Regions from separate parts of the Homo sapiens genome. Here regions 1 and 3 are each linked to region 2. The links are contacts of gene promoters, found by promoter capture Hi-C in blood cells and fetal thymus (Javierre and others, 2016). All regions are on one chromosome and are shown on one strand. Each heading gives the region's core, a stretch centred on a gene start or on the middle of the fragment in contact. The rest is flanking DNA. Distances are from core to core; before and after follow the strand shown.

Region 1 (4,210 bases), core at 1,254-3,753, 480 kb after region 2:
GGTCTGCCCACAGGAATCTCAATCGTGTATGCAAGTGCCAGCTGTGGTGAATGGGGCCAGGTGATCCCCAGGCCCCCAGATGACATGCAAAAGCACTGGTGGTGGCAGAGGTGGGGCATGCCTGTCCTCAGGCTCCAGGATGATGTAGGGGCAGGCCGGTCTGTAGTGTAAGTCTTCCAGCTTTGTTTTTCTTTTCAAAATTGTTTTGGTTACTTTGAGTCCTTTGCATTTCCATATAAATTTTAGAACAAGCTTGTTAATTTCTATAAAAATGCATGTTAAGATTTTGTCTAGAGTTGCCCTGAATATGCAGATCAATTTGGGGAAGATTGACATCTTAACAGTATTTATTCTTCCAAGTGATAAACACTCTTCCCCTCTTTAATTAAGTCTTTTAAAATTTATCTCAGCAATGTTTTGTAGTTTTTGGTGTACAGCTCTTGCGTTTTTTTGTCAAATTTATCCCTAAGTGTTTCATACTTTTGATGCTACTATAAATAATATTTTAAATTTTAATTCCTGATTGTTCATTCCTAGTATAGAAAAACATTGTATAATGATCTTATATCCTGCAACTAAGCTAAACTCACTTCTTAGTTTTAGTAACTTCTTTGTAGATTACACTGGATTTTCTCCATCATTTCTTCTGAAAATAAAGATAGTTTAATTTCTTCCTTTCTGATCTGGATGCTTTTTCTTTTCCTGCCTTAGTGCACTGGTTTGAATGTCCAGTACATTGTTGGATAGAAGTGGTGAGAGCACACGTCCTTGCTTTGTTCTTGATCTTAAGAGGAAAAACTCTAATTTTTCCTAATTAAATATGATGGTATATGTAGGTTTTTTTGTAAGTGCCCTTTATGTCCGGAAAGTTCCTTTTTATTCCTAGTTTGCTGAGAGGTTTGTTTTTAATTGGGAATAGATGTAGTATTTCCTTAAGTCTATTGAGAAAATGATATGTTTTTAGTTTTTTAATCCATTAATATGGTGAACTGAATTAATTTCCGAATGTTAAACCAACTTTGCCTCCCTGGCATAAATGACACTTGATATCAATGTATTCACTTTTTAAATATATCTTGTTGGATTTGATTTTCTGAGATTTTGTTAAGAATTTTTGCATCGAAGTTTATAAGGGATATTAGTTTGTAACCACAGACCTTTTCTTTTCTTGTAATTTCTTTTCATAGTTTTGGTGTCAGATAAATGTAGGCCTCAAAGAATGAGTTGAGAGGTATTCTATTGTCTCCAACTTTTTGGAAGAGTTTATATAGTTTTACTATTATTTACATTTAAGTGAGTAGTAGAATTCACCAGTGAAGTCATTTGGCTTGGTAGTTCTTAAAGTTTAGTTGCAATGTGGAATGTGAAGTCATATCAATGAATGTTTTACGTTTATCTTTCAACTCAAACAACTAGACAAGTGCTTTCCACTGAAACAACCACTATACTTTATTGCAAAGTGGAACTACGTTATGCATACTTCTCATTTCGTTACTATGCAATATAAAAGGATTTAATAAAAATAATAATTTTTGCTCTTTCTCCAAAGGCATTCTTAAATGAAACTGCTTTTTTTCCCTCTGAGTATGTGGTATCGAAGACTACAATAAAATGTGTTATTGAAGACTACAAAAACCACTACAAGTTAGTGGTTTAGTTCCACTGCCTTGATTCATTCTAAGGGGCTGGCAGTTTTACTCACCATTGCTTTTGCACTATCTGTGCAAACTTCAACATAGTGAAAAAAGTGAATAATATTTTGATATTATATTAGTTTTGACTTTGTGGACCCCCTGAGACTGTCTCAAGGGATTGTATGGGTCCATAGACCACACTTTGAGAAGCACTGCATTATAATTTGAGGATAAGTATTCAAATGTTTAGCTTGGATTTAATATCTCAATTACATTCCATGGTGCCTGCACTGATGGTTCCCCAGTGAATATATAAAAAATCAAAATAATGAGAAATTCAATAAGAAGAGTTTCTGTCTATTCAAAATAAGATCTTAAAGCAAGTAAATCACAAGTGAAGAAATATAGGCCTTTAAAATTATATTAAGCCAGTTGAATCTGTTTCTCCCAATTGACTTACACCATACTGCAATTATTTATCTTTGGTTAACAAAAATAAACTCTCAAGTTTCAAGAAACTAACCTCAATTACTTGTCACCTTACCTCTTCCACCTCCAGTTTCCTTATCTGTAAAACTGTGTGGGAGGTGGTGGTGATCATAATAGAATCTACCTCATAATGCCATAGGAACCAAATGAGATCCTGAATGTAAAGCACGTGAATGCTGAATTAATATTAGCTATTATGCTAACGTTCTCATTCCTTTTATGATTGCATCATATTCTGTAGTATGAATGGATCAAAATTTTCCCTGGTCGTTCCATATAGTGTGATAGCTCTGGGAACTTTGAAAGATAGGAGTCACGGGGTTGGAGTAATATAATTTTGGAGGTGTTGAATTTTGCACCAGTTTCATTTCATGTAATCACTCAGTAATTTAAAGTAGGTTAAAAGGTAGATTAATAGAGATTCCTATAGGATTTCCATTGTACGGGTGGACAAAATTCATTTGTAATTTATTCCTGGAGTACTTAAAATTGCTTAATTCTTTCAAGGAAGTACTTCTCACCATCACCCCTCACCACTATACTAATATACACACATAGACACAGATACACACACACATATATCTTGTTTATTAATTATTTGCCTAGAAATTTCATGATGACAAATTTAGGCCAGGTCTGACTAAATTATCACAAAATCTAAAATTTAATTGTTCAAAATCAGAAAAAAACAATTTTGGAGGTGTTGAAGGAGCTATGCACTTTCTAATAGATGCTGGTCCAGGCTTCAACCAAGGCAGGGTTTCTCAACCTTGGCTCTTTTGACATTTTGGACTGTATAATTCTTTGTTGTGTGTGTATCTGGGGTAAGGGGTGCTGTGCACTGTAGGATGTTTAATGGCATCCCTGGCCTCTATCCACTTGATGCTAGTGGCACCCTTCACCCCGTGTCATGACAACCAAAACATCTTTAGACATTGTCAAATATCACCCAGTGTGCAAAGTGCCTCCAGTTGAGAATCACTGAACCAGGTACTGAAGGAAGACCCTTCTGGCTGGACAGAACAGTACAGAAACAGAATCGTATAAGGAAGATGTTTTTTAGATAATTTTACTTAAATATCTCTGTTGGAAAAGACAGCAGCAATAATAACAGCTATAAGTTACTAAGTGCTATTAGGCACTTTGCAAACATCAATCCTTACAGCAACACTATAGATATGAATATTCCCATTTTACAGATGAGTAAAACAATACCCAGAAAAGTTAAGTTACATGCCCAAGAGAGGGACAGAGCTAGGATTAGTATCTGATCTAATTGACTTCTAAGCTCATGCTCTGAACCATCACAGTATTAATTTTGTTAGAAATGCAGCTTCCTCTGTGGGATGTTAATATTTAGCGTGCCTTGTATAATCCTGTCTGGTGACCCTATTTGGATAACTGAGTTGAGCATAATTTTAGATGAGAAATTGAATAGGGGGTGACTTCCTGACCCAGTACGTGGGATAGCCTTGGGATAAACTTAATTGAAGTATTACTTTGATGGGTTACAGAGACTTCTGAGGTAAGATCAAAGAGACATTTGTATAAGGCCTTGAGGGACCAAATTAGCCATCTCATTGGTTCTAGCAGCCATGACAATAATTAGTCAAGCAGCCTTTCGAAGGTGCTGGTAGGACTTTCCTTATACCTCTAATTGTCTCCCTCAAGGGGAAGTGAAATCACCTTTGACTGACCCCAGATCTGGCTGCTAAGCACTTTGGTTTAGTTGAAGAGAAAATGTTTGGGGAAATGTTAACCATGCACTCTAACCTCTAGGGCAGGGTTCTGCCAACTGCCTGTCACAACCCATTAAGGGTCATGAAATCAATTTAGTGGATCATGAGCAACATTTTTTAACCCAATTTACATGACTCCTTTTATTTCACACACTCATGGACTAGACCATTCTAAAGTAATATGGATTACTAAAGATAGCATTATTTTTATGACATTATTAATTATTATTTCTTGTGTTCTTCGTGTATTTACATGTGTTATAGTTTTTTCCATTTCCTTTTTTTTTTTTTTTTTTTTGAGACAGGGTCTTGCTCTGTTGTCTAGTCTAGAGTTCAGTGGCATGATCA
Region 2 (3,715 bases), core at 527-3,026:
CAAAAGGTTGTCAAAATGTGAGAGTACATGCAAGTCCATGGGGATTTTTGAGCCCAATTCAAAAGATTGGAAGGACTCTCTGTAGAGATCCTTTCAAATAGGGATACTGTCCCAATTATTTTCCGGAATTCATTTGTCATTCAACAAGCACTTATTGAATGCTTATCACATGACAGTCAAAGTTTTAGGTACAGAGAAATCTCTGTTCTCTCAGAGCTTACATTCCAGTGGGGAAAGACAGACAGTAAACAGTAACACAACAAACATAAATAGTTAAATTATATAGTATGTTAGAAGGTGATATAAAAAGTAGAACAGAATAAGGGGATCAGGAATAGGAATTTTGCACATTTAAAAGGGGTGGTCAGGATAGGACGCATCTTTGAGCAAAAGCAAATTGATGCAACTAAAACGTAGAATTCTGATTGGGTTAAAGGAAAAGAATGGTGATCATACTTTGCATTTACCTTGTGATATGCAGTTTACAAAGCTTTGCCACTCAGTCAGGGGTCACTGGAGGAACTGGTGCAGAATTTGGAAAAAAAGGATGAATTCCATTTTAGCCATATTACGTTTTAAGTGCCACAGGAAATAAATGCCTATCTGGTAGTCAGAAATGCAGCCCTGGAGCTAAGGAGAGATATTTGTGATAGAGATGTCGATTTGGAATCACTGTAATACCTTTGCTGGCTGAAGCGGTGGGAATGAATGGGTGAGCTCCCCAGGGGACAGCAGAGTGATGAGGTCAAGGGGAGAAGCTCACTATTAAATGTCTACATTTCAGGAGATGAAGACAAAGAAAAATGGGCAGAGGAGTATACATTTTACCCGGATCAGAGATAGAGACAAGGCAAGAAGGCTGCGTTATTAGCATTTTAAAATTTCCTCTTTCATTTCTTCCTTAATGTAAGCTGGTTCTTTTCACGACAAAACACTCCCCCCGCGCTACACCTCTTTTTGCGCGAATCTTTCTCCAGGACCTTAAAATGGTTTACTGAGCACTTCCCGCGAGCCAAGTATTTGGGGTTCCAGATCCTGGGATTTTGTCCTGACACTGCCTCCTCGTTTTAACACCCTTGCCTCCTTCTGCAGTGCCAGTTTCCAGGGAGCTGAAGCACAGGAAAGGCCTACAGAAAACAAAAGGCACAGTTTCACAAAAAGCCAAAACCAACCAACCCACAAAACACAACTGTCAGGGGTCTATATCCAGCACCTACCGCCTTTCCCCAACGCCCCCAGCCCCGCCCCTCGGCCCCACCTCCTCCCGCCCCTCGGCCCCACCTCCTCCCCGCCCCCTCGGTCCCACTCCTCCGCGCCCCCTCGGTCCCACCTCCTCCCCGCCCCTCGGTCCCACCTCCTCCCCGCCCCCTCGGCCCTCACCCACTCTCCGTCCCCTCCGCCCCGCCCCCTACGCCCCACCCATCCTCCCGTAGGCCCCGCCCTCGGCCCCACCTCCTCCCCGCCCCTCGGCCCCACCTCCTCCCCGCCCCTCGGCCCCACCTCCTCCCCGCCCCTCGGCCCCACCCATCCTCCCCGCAGGCCCCGCCACTCGACCGCACCCACCAGGGCCCCCCCCCCCCGGCTACGCCCACCCACCCACCCACTGGCCCCGCCCCTCGGCTACACCCACCCTCGTGCGGGCCCCGCGCGTCTTCCCCACCCCGCCCGTCTGCCTACCCCGCCCCTCGCCCCCACACGTTCTCTACGCAGGCCCCCGTCCCTCTGCCCCACCCTGTTCTCGCCACTGGCCCTGCCCCCATTTGCCGGCGCCCTTCCTCTTCGCTTCCCCGTAGCTCCCGCTTTCGCCTCTTCGTTTATGACTCCGTTGGGCTCCGGCCCTCCTAGAGAGGCCTCCATAGCGCAGGTTCGTGGGTTCTCGCGGACCTTTTTCCGTGTAGCTTTCTGCTTCTTCCCGGCATTCCTGTTTCCGTTTTCTCACAGCCCTCTGGCTTTTCCACCACTGAGACACTTTGCGCTCAGGACTTCAGTGACGTCATCTTTCTGCGGCGCGCGGACACCCGCCGGTGGAAGAAGAAACAGCTCCGCCGTCCTTCGCTTCTTTTGCTGGGCTGCTGCTCCTTCGGCATCATGGCGCCGTCGCTGTGGAAGGGGCTGGTGGGCATCGGTCTCTTTGCCCTAGCCCACGCCGCCTTTTCCGCTGCGCAGCGTAAGTGCCTGGGGCACGGGGACCGCTTCGGTGTGGAACCCTAGGGGCGGTGTGTGGGCGCACTTCTAAGGGACCATCGGACCGAGTGTCAGATTAATGGTCCTTTGAGACCTTACAGTTTGGGGTGACTAAGAAAATCAGTGCAGGAGTTCCCAGTGGAAGGTTCGGAGTTTGAATTTGGAGAGAGTGTGGCACCTGAAATTGCAGGAAGGTTGGAAGGAGGTGTCTGGGAGAGGGTTCAGAATAGGAGTCTCCAGGAATCCAGGACAAGTGATGTCAGATCCAGCATGGGGCAGATCAGGCACAGTTGTGAGATTGAGGACTCTGGTTGCTCATGGTCCCACGACAACCAAGTGGACAACATCTTGGGCACTCTTGGGCTGTCCAGGCAGAGACTGAGTAGTTAAGTGACCGATTGCCTCAGGGAGGCACTGTGGTACAGGAGAAAGAGCACTGGACTGGGAGTCTAAAGGACTGGTTGTTAAAAACTTGCATTACCGCTACATCTGTGTGACGTTGGGCAAAAGATTTGTGCTACACTGCGTTATGAAATTCAGTTTTGGGTCGCTGTTTGAAATTGCGCTGTGTTTAGGTGCTAGAGATACAGTGATGCCCTGAGCCAGTTCAAAGTCTAAAGGAAAACAAGTGGATCAAGAAGTAGTTACAATAAAGTGATATGCTAAAAGTATATAAGGATGCATGGAAGCAGGGACAGTCATATTTTGGGGGAACTGGGAGGTTAAGGAAAGTATCCTAGATCCTTGCTGCTTACAGTGTGATCAACAGACCAGCATCATGAGCACCACCTGGCAGGTAATTAGAAGATACTCAGGCCAGACCTGTTCAATCAGAATCTGGGTTTTAATAAGATCCCAGGGTGATTTGTATGCGCATTAGTTTGAGAAACACTGTCCTGGAAGAGATTAGGATACACTGGAGTACTGTGTCATTTTCTACAGTAAGCTTTAACTGTAGAATTATATGATTGTGGGGCGAGAAGGGCCTTTGGAGTTCACTGAAGTCCAACCCCTTCATTTTACAGATGAGGAAATTCCTGGTTAAAGGTAGTGTTAGAAGCAGGCGAGGCTTCATGCAAACTAGCAAGCTAGCTAGGAATTGAACCAGATAGGAGATTAGTCAAAATCGATTTTTGGTGTTGGTTTGATGTTTCTTTTACACTTGTCTTTATGACAGAGCTGTAGGTTAAAACTTAAGAAATGTCTCTAAACACATTCTTCTTCAAGAGTCAATACACATGCACTCAAAAACAGTTTGAATTATTTAGTCCAAAGTACGTTATTAAATAGGGATTGTCCTAGGTTCATCTAGAATTAAGATTTTTGTATTTTATGTTTTGGGTGATGAGAATGCCTTGTGGATTTGCCACTGCAGTGAGACCTCTTTATATATAATGCTCATGTTAGGGAGAGAGTAATATGTAACTTTAAGACTAAGTGTGTCATGTCAGACTGTAGCAGCAGATAGCACAATGTGGTGCTGTGGCATGCTCATCTTTGCTGTAATGAACTTTGTTACAGTAGGGCACCA
Region 3 (3,866 bases), core at 739-3,238, 300 kb before region 2:
GTGTAGTGACCACAGACTTCTGGTGGGAATAATTGTCCTAATTCTAGCTGAGTGTAGTGGCTCATGCCTATAATCCCAGCTACTCAGGAGGCTGAGACAGGAGGATTGTTTGAGGCCAGGAGTTTGAGACAAGCCTGGACAACATAGAGAGACCCTGTCTCTGCAAAAAAACTTTAAAGACTACCTAGGTGTGGTGGCACGCACTTGTAGTTCCAGCTACTCTAGAGGCTGAGGCGGGAGGATCACTTGTGCCCAGGAGTTTGAGGCTGCAGTGAGCTATTATTGCACCATTGCACCCCAGCCTGGGCAACAGAGTGACACTCTGTCTCAAAATAAATAAACAAATAAATGGTTTTTTTAATTGCTCTAATTCTAAAAATTCTTTTTAGTACTAGCTTCTTTGAATTACATATACAAACATACACACACACATGCATGCACACACACACGCATGCACACACACATGCATGATCAGAGGCAGTTTTTTAAATTAAATAATTGTTTTTGAGTGAATTGTACAGTAAAGGCAGATAGCTAGATTGTAGGGGAGCTGTAGCAAGTCGCTGAAAACCTGCCCACATGTCCTGCATTATTACAGTTATGATTCATATAAAATGAGATGAGAACATTTACTATCCTTGCAATCTTCCCTTCACACTCTAAAATGAAGTCTCCATCATTTCTCATTTATTTTGCTGTTGTTTTGTTTTGTTTTGATTTTTAATCACCAACTTGATTCTCAAAGCCTGGAACTCAATTACAAAGTTCATTTTGACTTACCAAATATTTACTGGGTACCTAAAACATGCCAAGCACTAGGCTAGAAAACATGGGAGAATTTCATGTTAAGTAAGACATTCTCTCAACCCCTGGAGGGGAACTTGTGGTCTATGTGCCCCTCAGGCTTGTTTCCGGAAACAGCTGAAAATTCTGCTTGTACTCCAGACTTAGTACATGGAGTCTAGGCATGAGGTGAGTCCTCTATTTTTTTTTTAAAAGAACCCTTTTCTCCTTTGATGACCCTCCAAACACAAAGCTTCCTTTAGTTTCCAACTCACTTCCTCTTTTTTAGCAACATTCTCAGCTTGTATTCAACTATTTCCTGTTCACATTTTCTAACTGTCCTGTTAATTATTCTCTGCCTTAAGAAAAACCATAGAGTAACAACATAAAATATTATACTTGATTTAGTATATATTATTTGCCTAAGGAACCAAAAAAATGTCAAAAGAGGGTCGTGAGAGGTCTAGGCATGGTGGCTCATGCTTGTAATCCCAGCGATTTGGGAGGCCACGGTGGGTGGATTACTTGACGCCAAGAGTTCGAGACCAGCCTGGCCAGCATGGTGAAACCCCATCTCTACTAAAAATACAAAAAAAAAAAAAAATAGCCGGGTGTGGTGGTGCATGCCTGTAACCCCAGCTACTTGGGAGGCTGAGGCAGGAGAATTGCTTGAACCCAGGAGGTGGCGTTTGCAGTGAGCCGAGATGGTGCCACTGCACTCCAGTCTGGGCAATAGAGCGAGACTGTCTCAAAAATAAAGGGGGGGGGGGAGGTGAGAGCAAGAGTAAAATCATTGTAGTGCATATTCGGTTCATATTACATAGATATAGAACAGATGATAGATGAATAGATACATACATACATACATACATACATAGATTCTTGTTTAAGGAACCTCTTCATCTAAATTGGTAATTCAGTGAGAGGAAGAGGGGATTGTATTTGACAAACACAAGAAGGAAGTCCATTTATTTCAGTGAATAATTCTGTGCATGCTTGTTTATTACTGAAGAGAATTTTGTGTGTGAGAGAGGAAGGTTTGAATTACTTAACTACACAGTCAATTCTTAATTATCCATGTTAATAGACAGAAGCGATTACTCTGATAATCTGAAACAACAGATAATCAAAAATTCTTCCCCTTAATTAGTCACCTATCCTCCTACAGTTTGTCTCCCGCTCTATCCCCACCCAGAAAACAATTTTCTGTACATTAGGGAAAATGTTTTCCAGAGGTAATCTCTCCCCTTACAGGCAACTAGCCTACCAAGTGATCCATCAGTTTCCTGAGGAGAGGCTGTAATCCTGGAATGCCTATGTGTTAATTTACAACAAAGTCTAGGGATGGCAAGGAGGGAATCTCTTCCTAGAGTTAAAAATATACATGTCCACTAGTTAGAGGATACACTCACCTCCTGCCTCCTGGTATTAGTGCATCTCAGAAGCCAAGCCTTCAGTGAGTATAGGGCAGTGATTAAGAGCTGAGATGGTCAGGGAGAGCTATGTGACCTTGGGCAAACTGCTTTCTGAGCCTCAACTTACTCAGCTATAAAATAGGGGTCATAATAATTATGACTTCATTGGGCTATTGTCAGATATATGAGATAACGACTGGAAAGTCCCTAACACAATGAATGCCCTTGGTGATATCAGCTATTATTATCATCATTATTGTTATTACTTAGGTTGTTGACAGTGCAAAGAGCTATTCCAGGCTGGGCACAGTGGCTCAAGCCTGTAATCCCAGCACTTTGGGAGGCCAAGGCAGGCAGATCACTTGAGGCCAGGAGTTTGAGACCAACCAGCCTGGCCAACATGGTGAAAACCCATCTCTACTAGAAATATTTTAAAAAATTAGCTGGGTATGGTGTCATGCGCCTGTAATCCCAGCTACTTGGGAGGCTGAGGCATGAGCCTCTCACTTGAACCCGGGAGGCAGAGGAGGTTGCAGTGAGCCATAATTGTGCCACTGCACTCAAGCCTGGGCGACAAAACCAGAATCTGTCTCGAAAAAAAAAAAAAGGAATCATTGCAAGAATGGGGGCCATCCAAACTAGGAGCTGTGAGTTTGCTGCAAATGATTAATAATAATAATAAAATATTTTGATTTTTAAAAATACATTCTAGCAGATTCAAGTTATCCTGCAATAAGCTTTGCTTCTCATCTCACTTCTGATATTCTTTCCTAATAGCAGAGGAAACCGTAAGATTAGATCTGGTGCACTGGGAGCCCTGGGCACTCCCTGATGGGTGGGAATGTATCTGATGAAGATTGAGATCTGTTGACTGGGGGGCCTTTATACTCAGCCTGACCTCTCTGAGTCCTGATGAGAGATTTCTTCCCTCATCCCAGTAGAGAGCATCTTCTAGTGCCTGAAGCTCCCAACAGCTTCAGTTTCTCCAGATTTCCAGCCAGACCACCCATTTCTCCCTACCAGAACGACTTGGCTTCCTTATATATGTTCATATCATTGATGGTATCTCCTAATATTGCTCCAGACTGAAGGTGATTTTGCAAATATCTAATCTCATCCATTTTGGGTGGATTTGATCAGACCAGGTTTCAGAGTTCTGAGACTAGTCTTCTGTCAGTCTTGCCTATGTTAACTACCTTTGTGACCTTGGTCAAATCCGTTTTCTTCTGTGCTATGACCCGGGCTGCCTTAGAAATTCTCTGATGATGGTTCCTTCCTGCTCAGACTTAGGGTTCTAGGATTCCAGCTGGGAGAGGGAGAGGATCAGTAGGAAAGGACACAGTGTAAGCAGATGTTTGGAGGAAACCAAAGACTTCCTACTTAACACTTAAAGACCTCCTACTTAAAGACCTCCTCTTTAATAACTCCTACTTAACACTGCCCAGAGTAGCTCTTCTCCTGATCCCATTTTTCTCAACGGAAGAGATATTGGCTTGCATATACTGAAGCAAATGCTGCAATTTTAACATATTAGTGAAATCTCATAAGTTATTAATATTTGGTAAACTGGATGATTTCTGGTCTTTTTCCCTGGGCCTCCACAGAAGGGCCTGACCTTGCATGATAGCCATCTTCCTTTTACTCGCTAGGTGGCAGCAACACTCAGCT

The links. The method cuts DNA at HindIII sites, captures the fragments that hold promoters and counts their contacts. A CHiCAGO score of 5 or more calls a contact.
Region 1: a contact is called between a fragment that was not itself captured here and the fragment with the promoter of MMGT1 in region 2, in 1 of 17 cell types (monocytes). The highest score is 6.5, in monocytes.
Region 3: a contact is called between a fragment that was not itself captured here and the fragment with the promoter of MMGT1 in region 2, in 4 of 17 cell types (naive B cells, M2 macrophages, total B cells and 1 more). The highest score is 8.5, in naive B cells.

The regions. Positions count from the first base shown.
Region 1 is chrX:135,489,334-135,493,543 of GRCh38, reverse strand. No RefSeq gene overlaps it. Among named protein-coding and RNA genes, the nearest start is that of INTS6L, 29 kb to the left of the region's middle. RefSeq lists an enhancer at 3,938-3,987. The HindIII fragment of the contact is 4,497 bases long and covers 255-4,210 here.
Region 2 is chrX:135,972,049-135,975,763 of GRCh38, reverse strand. It overlaps MMGT1 (membrane magnesium transporter 1), which reads left to right and starts at 1,776. Exons shown (of 4, transcript NM_173470.3): 1 at 1,776-2,167. The coding sequence starts at 2,089. It also overlaps a transcript of SLC9A6 not described here. RefSeq lists a silencer at 1,578-1,687 and an enhancer at 1,698-2,227. The HindIII fragment of the contact is 2,640 bases long and covers 493-3,132 here.
Region 3 is chrX:136,268,625-136,272,490 of GRCh38, reverse strand. No RefSeq gene overlaps it. Among named protein-coding and RNA genes, the nearest start is that of MAP7D3, 19 kb to the right of the region's middle. The HindIII fragment of the contact is 1,899 bases long and covers 1,039-2,937 here.